3 separate regions of the Homo sapiens genome follow, and regions 2 and 3 are each linked to region 1. Evidence: promoter capture Hi-C in human tissues and cell types (Jung and others, 2019). All regions are on one chromosome and are shown on one strand. Each heading gives the region's core, a stretch centred on a gene start or on the middle of the fragment in contact. The rest is flanking DNA. Distances are from core to core; before and after follow the strand shown.

What was found. Contacts are between HindIII fragments. The study calls those that stand out against the background at their distance.
Region 2: a contact is called between a fragment that was not itself captured here and the fragment with the promoter of NTN1 in region 1, in 2 of the 25 tissues and cell types used here (lymphoblastoid cells and pancreas).
Region 3: a contact is called between a fragment that was not itself captured here and the fragment with the promoter of NTN1 in region 1, in 3 of the 25 tissues and cell types used here (lymphoblastoid cells, small bowel and thymus).

The regions. Positions count from the first base shown.
Region 1 is chr17:9,019,592-9,023,003 of GRCh38, reverse strand. NTN1 (netrin 1) reads right to left here and starts at 1,494. Exons shown (of 7, transcript NM_004822.3): 1 at 1,419-1,494; 2 at 1-693. The coding sequence starts at 630. RefSeq lists silencers at 1,243-2,032, 2,083-2,132 and an enhancer at 1,553-2,096. The HindIII fragment of the contact is 11,312 bases long and covers 1-3,412 here.
Region 2 is chr17:9,378,340-9,381,751 of GRCh38, reverse strand. It overlaps STX8 (syntaxin 8), which reads left to right. Exons shown (of 8, transcript NM_004853.3): 7 at 3,099-3,200. Among named protein-coding and RNA genes, the nearest start is that of STX8, 200 kb to the left of the region's middle. The HindIII fragment of the contact is 4,928 bases long and covers 1-3,412 here.
Region 3 is chr17:9,298,319-9,301,730 of GRCh38, reverse strand. The region is part of intron 7 of STX8 (syntaxin 8); the gene reads left to right. Among named protein-coding and RNA genes, the nearest start is that of STX8, 280 kb to the left of the region's middle. RefSeq lists an enhancer at 574-643. The HindIII fragment of the contact is 8,515 bases long and covers 1-3,412 here.

The DNA of each region.
Region 1 (3,412 bases), core at 245-2,744:
CATGTCGGTGTGCGAGTCGGTGCACACGGCCTCCTGCTCGTTCTGCTTGGTGATGGGCGCGCGGTGCGGCCGGTTGTACATCTTGCGGCACTGCGTGGAGTAGAACTGGAAGGGCACCCACGTGCGCCCGTAGTCCATGGACTTGTAGATGGCCATGGACTCGGGCCGCGGCGAGCAGAACTGCAGGCTCACGTAGGTCACTTCGAACTTCTTGCCGAGGGACAGTGTGAGCGTGACGTTGTGCGGGAACTGCAGGTAGTTCTCGGACTGCCAGCACGTCAGGTTGTGCGGGTTGTTGAGGTCGGTGAGGAAGGCGGGCGGGTGCGCCTTCTTGGGGTCGGACGCGTTGCAGAGGTGGCACGAGCGCAGCCGCTCCTCGCCGCGCTCGCTCACCACGCAGTAGCGCGCCGGGGGCCGGCCGCAGGTGCTGGACACGCGCACGTCCTTGCCGAAGGCCGCATTGACAAAGTCCGGGATGCAGCGGCGCGGGTGGCCGTTCTCGTCCGAGCAGGGATCGGGCTGCGCCGCCTGGCCCGCGAACATGCTGAGCCCGGGCCCGCCGCGCACCGCGCCCACCAGGCACGCCACCGCCGCCAGCGCCGCCAGCGCCTCCCACACTGCGCGCATCATGCTGCGTCCAGCTTGCCCCGGCCCTGCCGCGCCGAGGATCTGTCCGCCTGCCGCAGAAGGCGCCTGCGGAGAGAAGGGAGCTGCGCTCAGCCAGCCCGCCCCGCGCCCTCCAGCTCTCGGCGGGGTGGCGAGCGGAGATGCGGGAGAACGCCCGGCTTCCTGGGCACCCACCCCGCAGCCGACTGCCCGCCTCTCTCCCCCAAAGTCCCGCGGGCGGCGAAGCCGGGGCCCTCCAAGTCCGCACCGCTCGCGCCCCTTCTTCCCCGCCCGGCGGGAGAACGCTCTGCTTCCCCGCCACCGCCGCCCCCACGCCGCCCGAGGGGCATGCCTGAGCCGGTCTCCCCGTCCGCGACCAGCCCCCCTCGCACCCCAAGTTTCGGGCGCAGGAGAGCTGGGGGACCCCGACTCTGCACGGCCCGCGCCCCTTCGTCTCGCAGCCCGGGGTCCCTCTCAGATGCCCCCCGATCGCGTCCCCGCCGGAAAGTCCGCGTTCGGGACTTTACCTCTGGAGGGGGCAAAAGAGAAAGAAAAGTTTGCCTGGCCCCTCCGGGGAGCCCGCGCGCCGGTCGCCGGAGAGCCTCTCGCTCGCTGCTAGCAGGCGCGTCCCGCCTCAGCGCGGGCTTGCCAGCTCCATGCCCGGCGCGGCCGCCGCTGCCCCAGCCCCAGCCCCGGTCCCGGCCCCGCCGCCGCCTCTCTCGCCCGAGTGACTACGCGGCCGCCCGGCTCCCGCCGCTCCCGCCGAGCTCGGAGTGCTGCCCTGCCCGCGCCCGGGGCGCACACACACTCACGCTGGCCGGCGCGCACTCACACACACGCGCGCTCGCCCCCGAAGGCTCCGCCGCCGCCGCCACTCGCGCTGGGAGTGAGGGGCGGAGGGGAGCGCGGGGGCGGGGGGCGGGGCCGCCGGGCGGGGCGCCGGCCAATAACGTCCGCGAGCTGCCGCCAGCTCCGAGCAAAGTTTTCACCCCGGGAAAGAAGAAAGTTAAAGGGAACCGGCCCGGACGCCCGAGAGGGAGAGCACAGGCGGGTGGGAACCCGGGAGCCCGAGAAAGAACAGCAGAGACAAAGAGAAAGCGAGGAGAGCACCCGGGGAAACCCCGGAGAGGGGGCTGGGCCGGGCCAGGCGCGCACCCCGTGGGGGAGGAGGGGCCGCCGGGGACTGTCAGCCTCGCCCGCGCCCCGCGCCGCCCGGAGAGCCTCACGCCCGGGGGAGCGCGCGGGCGGGGGAAGGGGGCCACTTTCTCCCTCCCGGTCCCAGCCAAACACATCTGTGTTTGTTTTCTTTGCTGCGCGGAGGTCGGGCCTTCCTCTAACCCAGCCTGATGGCCCCCGGTGGCACCGCGCACAGGGCTGTGCCCCTGTGGGCACGCAGCCCGGGAGCGTGAGGAAGAGGAGGAGGATGTGACCTCTGCCTGCTCTCCATTTTTGCCCGAAGCCCCCGGGGTCCGGCGAGGAGGGGCTGCTCGCCCGCACTCCCACGGATATCACCGTGCGTGAGCCTGTCTGTCGGGAACGCGGCTTCGTTCTAGCCAAGGGAGCAGTGGTGGGCAGGAGGCTGAAGGGGTAGGAAGCTGGCAGCACCTGGACGCTGGCCACCGCCCCTCCAAGACGGGCCTGCCTGGTCTCAGGCATGGGGACAGCCCAGCCCTCCCCAGATCCCCTGAGGCAGGCGTATCGGTACTTCCTCAACCGCATTTTTAAGGGTGCAAAGCCCTGTAATAGCTCATGGGACCTCCACAGCAGCTTTGCTGTTGTATTAACTCCATTTTGCAGATGAGGAAACTGAGGGTCCCGGGAGCTGAAGAAACTCGCACAAGATCAACCCCCAAGTAAACATCAAAAACAGGAAGAGAAGCCTGGGCTCCTTCCACTGCAGGGCATTCGTCAAATGCATAACCTTGCCGAATGATGGTGTCATGGGGCATCTGCGGGGCCACCCAGCCCCTCCTTGCCTCATTCTCCATCGCCCCAATAAAAAGACTGAGGACAGTGACAGCATCCTTTGGTCATCTTGCAACAGCAGCCAGAGAGCTCTGGGAAAGGAATACACTGGGCCGAGAGTTTGGAACGGAATCTCTGCTCGTTTATTTGTTACTTGTAGATGTGTGGTCCAGTAATAGACCCGGATGAAAAGCCCCAGGTCCTGGTTCCGGCCCAAGGGCTGCCTTGCTGCATTAGCTCCATTAAGTGCCTCAGTTTGTCTTATTGGCATTTTCATAAACCCTGAGAATCTAAGAAGGGGCCTCGGGGCTCGTCTGGCCCAGCTCCGTCTCCTTGGAAGAAGGCCTTCCCCAGCCTCCCAGAGAGACGGCCACCCAAGCCAGCTCTTCCAGGGATGGGAGCTCACCACAGCTCAAGAAAATAAATCCATTCCATTGCAGGACAGCCTGGATTCATCTTCTTACCCCGGGGTAGCAATTTAGCTGTGCCTTCTTGTGCCGTTTACCACACTCTGCACTGTTTATTTATGCCTTACCTCACCTTGTGGCAGAAAGGATTTCAGGTAACTTACAAGGGTACATAAAATATGACACAATAACAAATTAAAAGTGAGGTCAAAGGAAATAAATGAAATGGTTAACCATGGTGACCTGTGAAATCGCAATGGTATACTGAAAGGCAGCATAGCTCTTAGGAGGAAACGCTTCGGAGCCAGGGTACCTGGGTTCAAATTCTGCCTCTGCTGTGTGACTATGGAAAGTCTATGCCTTGGTTTCCTCCATCTGTACAAGGGAGATAATACTTTCTACCCCACTGGGTTGTGAGCATCACGTGAGTTGAC
Region 2 (3,412 bases), core at 646-3,145, 360 kb before region 1:
TGATCCGCCCGCCTCGGCCTCCCAAAGTGCTGGGATTACAGGCGTGAGCCACCAGCCCATTCATTGTCTTTATCTTTTCATATTTATTTTATCTTGCTGTATACAAGGCATTCTCCTAGGGGTGGGAGGTATAAGGATGAATAAAAATTAGTTTGTATCATAATCTTCCTGTTAAAGACATGTAAACAAATCGATAGAATATAACTATACGGTCTATAAATAAGAGGTTTGTAGGAAGTGCTGCAGGAGGCAAGAAGCAGGAGCACCCAACTCCTTTGTGCCTTTCAGATACTATTCTTTTTGCATGGGTTGCCTTTTTCCTGCTTTTTCACCCATGTCGCCTTCAGAATTTAGCTCACACATCATTCTGGAAACTTTATTTGATTTCCTTGTTTGCTTTACTTAATGCTTTAAGAAAAATGGTGACTGGTATTGAACAGCACATCTCCAAAGCAGTCACTATAAAAACAGGAAGGAGGGAGAAGGAGGGAGGAAAAAAAAAAAACAAAATGAAAAATATAATAGTCATAAATCCCTTGACAGAGATATGTTCTGAGAAATGTGTTGTTAGGTAGTTTTCTCATTGTGCGAACATCATGGAGTGTACTCACACAAAACTAGATGGTAAAGCCTGCTGCATGCCTAGGCTATATGTATGGTATGGCCTATTGCCCCTAGGCTGAAAACCTGTACAGCATATTATTGCATGTAAGCAGTTGTAACAAGATGGTAAATATGGTCGGGTGCAGTGGCTGACGCCTGTAATTCCAGCCCTTTGGGAGGTCGAGGTGGGTGGATCATTTGAGGTCAGGAGTTCGAGACCAGCCTGGCCAACATGGTGAAACCCCATCTCTACTAAAAATACAAAAATACAAAAATTACGGGTGGTGCGCACCCGTAATCCCACTTACTTGGAAGGCTGATGCGGAAGAATCGCTTGAACTTGAGAGGCAGAGGTTGTGGTGAGCTGCTATGACACCACTGCACTCCAGCCTGGGCGACAAGAGTGAGACTCCCTCTAAAAAAAAAAAAAAAAAAAAAAGTTTCTGTATCCAAACATAGAAAAGGTACAGTAAAAATATGGTATTATAACATTATAATACTGTACCACTTATGGTACTACTGTCGTAGATGTGGTCGGTCATCGACTGAAATGTCATGTGGCACATGACTATATAGGCTCACTGTAAGAAATTCAGGCCAGGCACAGTGACTCATGGTTGTAATCCTAACACTTTGAGAGGCTGACACAAGAGGATCTCTTGAGGCCAGGAGTTTGAGACCAGCCTGGGTGACATAGCAGGGCCTGGTCTCTACAAAAAATTTAAACAATAACCTGGGAGTGGTGGCACATGCTTACAGTCTCAGCTACTCAGGAGGTTGAGATGGGAGGATTGCTAGAGCCTTGAAGACTGCAGTGAGCTATTGTGGTACCCTGTATCCAGTCTGGGTGACAGAGCAAGACCCTCTCTCTCAAAAAAAAAAAAAAAAAAAAAACACACAGAAATTCAAACAACACAGAAAAATGCAAGGAAGAAGGCAGCAGTCACACAGGATCCCACCATCTAGAAATAATCATTAGTAGCATTAGATTAATATTATCCACATATACCCCTATAGGTTTGTAAATATAAAAAGATGGATACAAATAATTTTACATAGTTAAGATCGTACTATACTATATATGCTATTTTAAATGTTGTGAAGGGCTCAATTTCACTTAAAAAGATTAGAATTAAAAAAGAAATGAATTTCACATCAAGGATTCTTTTCTTTTTTTTTTTGAGACAGAGTCTCTCTCTGTCGCCCAAACTGGAGTGCAGTGGTGCAATCTCGGCTCACTGCAACCTCCACCTCCCTGGTTCAAGCGATTCTCCTGCCTCAGCCTCCCGAGTAGGTAGGATTACAGGCATGCGCCACCATGACCGATTAATTTTGTATTTTTGGTAGAGACGGGGTTTCACCATGTTGGTCAGGCTGGTCTCGAACTCCCAACCTCAGGTGATCCTCCTGCCTCGGCCTCCCAAAGTGCTGGGATTATAGGTGTGAGCCACCGTGCCCAGCCCACATCAAGGATTCTTTACAAGAGATAGTAATTACTAAAAGATCCCTCAAGCTTAACAAAAAACATTAAAGTTTTGGTGATTTTAAAAGGCTACAAGTTTCTGTATGATTAACTTTTCAACTGCTCGATATGCCTCGTTGCGAGAGATGAAGAAATTAGCACTTTCAATTTCTTTTCACCTTCCTTCCCCACTCGCAACCACTGACTAATTTTTCAGTTGGAATTACATTGTACTGTTGTGACCTTTCTGTACCTTTCTGTTATCTAATCCACGTATTTGTTTACTCTTAGTCCAGTATTTAAATGGATTTGGTTCTCTCCATCATCTCTTTATTTATCTTTTGATTGGCTAGATTTCTTCATCATGTAGTTTTCTCAAGAAGGGCCCAGGTAGTCCCTGAAGTCTACTGTGCCGTCTGTTCCTTTTTTTTTTTTTTTTTTTGAGATGGAGTCTTGTTCTGTCACCCAGGCTGGAATGCAGCAGCGTGATCTTGGCTCAGTGCAACCTCTGCCTCCCGGGTTCAAGCGATTCTCCTACCTCAGCCTCCCGAGTAGCTGGGATTACAGGTGCACACCACCACACCCGGCTAATTTTTGTATTTTTAGTAGAGAAAAGGTTTCACTATGTTGGCCAGGCCGGTCTCGAACTCCTGACCTCAGGCAATCCTCCCTCCTCAGCCTTCCAAAGTGCTGGGATTATAGGCGTGAGCCACCGTGCCTGGCCTGTCTGTTCCTTTATACTTGAATGACAGCTTGGCTAGGCATAAATTCGGCAGGTCATGCTTTCTTTCCTCTGAATGTGGCATTTCTCCTGTCTGCTGGAATTGTGTTAAATCAGTTTTCTTCTTTACTACTGCTTTTTTTTTTCCTTTTACAATCAGAATTGCAGTTTTCAAAGAATCGACATGAGTTCTGTACCTTTTCAGTTACTGCACTCGAGATCATTATTGCTAGGATGAACAACCACAGCTGTGATACTGTGATGTGAACCGGGGTATTTCAGGAATAGTAATCATGTATGTTTCCTTTCTAGAGATAATTGACGACCTTGCCAACCTAGTGGAGAACACAGATGAAAAACTTCGCAATGAAACCAGGCGGGTAAACATGGTGGACAGAAAGTCAGCCTCTTGTGGTAAGAGATAGCTACGTTATGGCTCTGTTTCTGTCATAGCTTGTGGATTTACTCTGCTCTGAGTTTCCTGTTTGTCTAATTACTGTGGGGATTTGGTTGCTCTTCTGATACAGGCAGTTCCATTTGATGAAGCACTGAAATTGCTAAACAATGGTTAAATCTGGTCAAAATGAAATGGAGTTCAAAGGGCATATCATTCATTGTTTTTTTGT
Region 3 (3,412 bases), core at 665-3,164, 280 kb before region 1:
GATCACGAGGTCAGATCAAGACCATCCTGGCTACCACGGTGAAACCCCGTCTCTACTAAAAATACAAAAAAAAAAACAAAAATGGCCGGACATAGTGGCAGGCGCCTGTAGTCCCAGCTACTCGGGAGGCTGAAGCAGGAGAATGGCGTGAACGCGGGAGGTGGAGCTTGCAGTGAGCCGAGATCGCGCCACTGCACTCCAGCCTGGGCGACAGAGTGAGACTCCATCTCAAAAATAAATATAAATAAATAAATAAATAAAATAAAAATTAAAAAAAAGTAAAGCACTGTGCCCAAGCCAAATTAATCTCAAGTGTACAAAGAGAGGTTAATATTAGGAAACATATTAACATGATTCATCTCATTAATAAATGGAGTAAAGCCTTGTAATCACCTTAGTAGATACTAAAAAGGCATTTAATAGAGCTCAGTATCTGTTCTTAGTTGTTGTTGTTTTTTAAAAATTACTCTTCAGAAACTAGGAATTAAAGGACACACACTGTATTATCATGCTAAATAATAACTATCACAAACTAAACATTACTAATCATTTTGCCTAATGGTGAAAAACTAGAGGATCAGATCAAGAACAAAATAAGGGGCCAGGAGTGGTGGCTCACGTCTGTAATCCTAGCACTTTGGGAGGCCGAGGCGGGTGGATCACGAGGTCAGGAGATCAAGACCATTGTGGCTAACACAGTGAAACCGAGTCTGTACTAAAAATACAAAAAATTAGCCGGGCGTGGTGGCAGGCTCCTGTAGTCCCAGCTACTCAGGAGGCTGAGGCAGGAGAATGGTGTGAACCCGGGAGGTGGAGTTTGCAGTGAGCCGAGATTGCATCACTGCACTCCAGCCTGGGTGACAGTGAGACTCCGTCTCAAAAAAAAAAAAAAAAAAAAAAGAACAAAATAAGAATGTCCCATCTCATAACTAATACATATCATTAATTTGGAAGGCACAACCTCTGCAATATGCAAAATAAATAAAGAGGAAAAGCCAAAATTAACATCTTACTTGCAAATATTTCCAGTTGTCTACTTGGAAATTTCAAGAGAATCAACTGAAAAACTAAGAACGCCAAGTCCTTTGCCAGATATAAAATAAATATACAAAAATTGTATTCTCATATAACACTCATAACCAGGTAGAAAACATCACAGATGGAGAACAGATTGCATTCACGATAGCTATAAAAGCTCAACAAGAAGTAGATCTACGAAGAAAACTACAAAACATTTCTAAGGTTCAAAACCCAACTCAAACTAGCTGAAGCAAAATAAAAGGGGGAGGGGAGTTTACCATAATTGTGATTTGGGGAGGTCATGACTCACAGGTTTTTTAAATAATTGGGGAATTTTCTTTTTCTTTTTCTTTCTTTCTTTCTTTTTTTTTTTTTTTTTGAGATGGAGTTTCGCTCTTGTTGCCCAGGCTGGAGTGCAATGGCACCACCGTGGCTCACCGCAACCTCCTCCTCCCAGGTTCAAGTGATTCTCCTGCCTCAGCCTCCCAAGTAGCTGGGATTACAGGCATGCGCCACCATGCCCGGCTAATTTTGTATTTTCAGTAGAGACGAGGTTTCACCATGTTGGTCAGGCTGGTCTCGAACCCCCAACCTCAGGTGATCCGCCCGCCTCGGTCTCCCAAAGTGCTGGGATTATAGGCATGAGCCACCGCACCCTGCCTAATTGGGGAATTTTCAACCCCAGAAATTTATAAACACTGGTGAAACAAATGTTTATCTTGGGTGATTGATGTTCATGCCCTGCCTAGGTTCCAAGATCTTGACGAGATAACAACTTAAAGCTCTCTACATCTCCAAGTGTTGGCAAACGTAGTTGATTGAGGCAAACCCAAACTGAAAGGAAAGGAGTTTACATTACATTTAGAGTAACAAATAGCCTAAAGCGGTAGCTTCTAGACACAGCGGTAACTCTACTTCACTGACTGGAAGCAGGAAGTGGTATGACCAGTATTAAATAATGTAAGAATGGCCCGAGCACGGTGGCTCACACCTGTAATCCCTGCACTTTGGGAGGCTGAGGCAGTAGATCACGAGGGCAGGAGATTGAGACCATCCTGGCTAACACGGTGAAACCCTGTCTCTACTAAAAATACAAAAAATTAGCCGGGTGTGGTGGCGGGCGCCTGTAGTCCCAGCTACTCAGGAGGCTGAGGCAGGAGAATGGTGTGAACCTGGGAGGCAGAGCTTGCAGTGAGCCCAGATCGCGCCACTGCACTCTAGCCTGGGCGACAGAGTGAGACTCTTGTCTCAAAAAAAAAAAAAAAAAAAAAGCGTAAGAATGAAGACGGACGCAGGCAATCCCCTCTTTTCCTTCCAAATCATCGAGGTTTTGTGGCTGAAATACAGTTCCTCGGTTTGCTTGGGAAATGACATGCAGACACAGTAAGGCTCAGCATTCTGTATAGCATAGATTGGGAATTAACCATGTGACCACATTTGCACCATCTGAAGTTGGAATTCACAAAAAAAATGTGGAAAACTATGATGAGCTATGCATCCGGGAGAAAAGGTCACTGTGCCTGCGTGAGTGTGTGTTGGAGAAGGCTTGTGTTGGTCACCAGTGCCATCTGAAGTCCAGAAGCAGATGTGAACCCAAGATGGCCTCAGACTGCAAACTCCTAGGCCAAAGGGAAATGACCTTCTACCAACAGAGAATCAAGGAAAGTGAGAGAGGGCTCGCAAAACACCGACAAGAGAAAAACCAGGTGGGAAGGTGAGTGCATCTGGCTAATTGGTCACAGACTGTAAATTCCCCTCAAGCATCTTGTTTTAAGCCACATCTGCTGCTGCTACTTAGAAGAGCCTGGATCTTCTGAGGAGTTGCAAAGGAATGCTTGCAAGGACAGATGCTACTCAGGTTTGGTTTGGTTTTGTTTTGTTTTGTTTTGTTTGTTTTTGAGACAGAGTTTCGCTCTTGTTGCCTAGACTGGAGTGCAGTGGCGTGATCTCGGCTCACTGCAACCTCCGCCTTCTGGTTTCAAGCAATTCTTCTGCCTCAGTCTCCTGAGTAGCTGGGATTACAGATGTCCGCCACCACACCCGGCTAATTTTTGTATTTTTAGTAGAGACGGGGTTTCACCATGTTGGCCAGGATGGTCTCAGTCTCCTGACCTCAGGTGATCTACCCACCTTGGCCTCCCAAAGTACTGGGATTACAGGCGTGAGCCACCATGGCTGGCCCGGTTTTTTTGGTTTTTAAAGTGGAATAACAGAAGTACATTTGCTCACAGAGAGTTACTTGGAAGAGGGAAAGACAAAGCAGGAGTGCACGTGGCAGTGGAAGGAAGATGTTGGAAGAGCACTTAGGAAAACCTGAGCTGATTTCCTCATCAGCCTTTCCATTGCCAGGAACTCTCCTGTGCCTGTGGGTGCCAGGGCTGGGCTGGCCAAA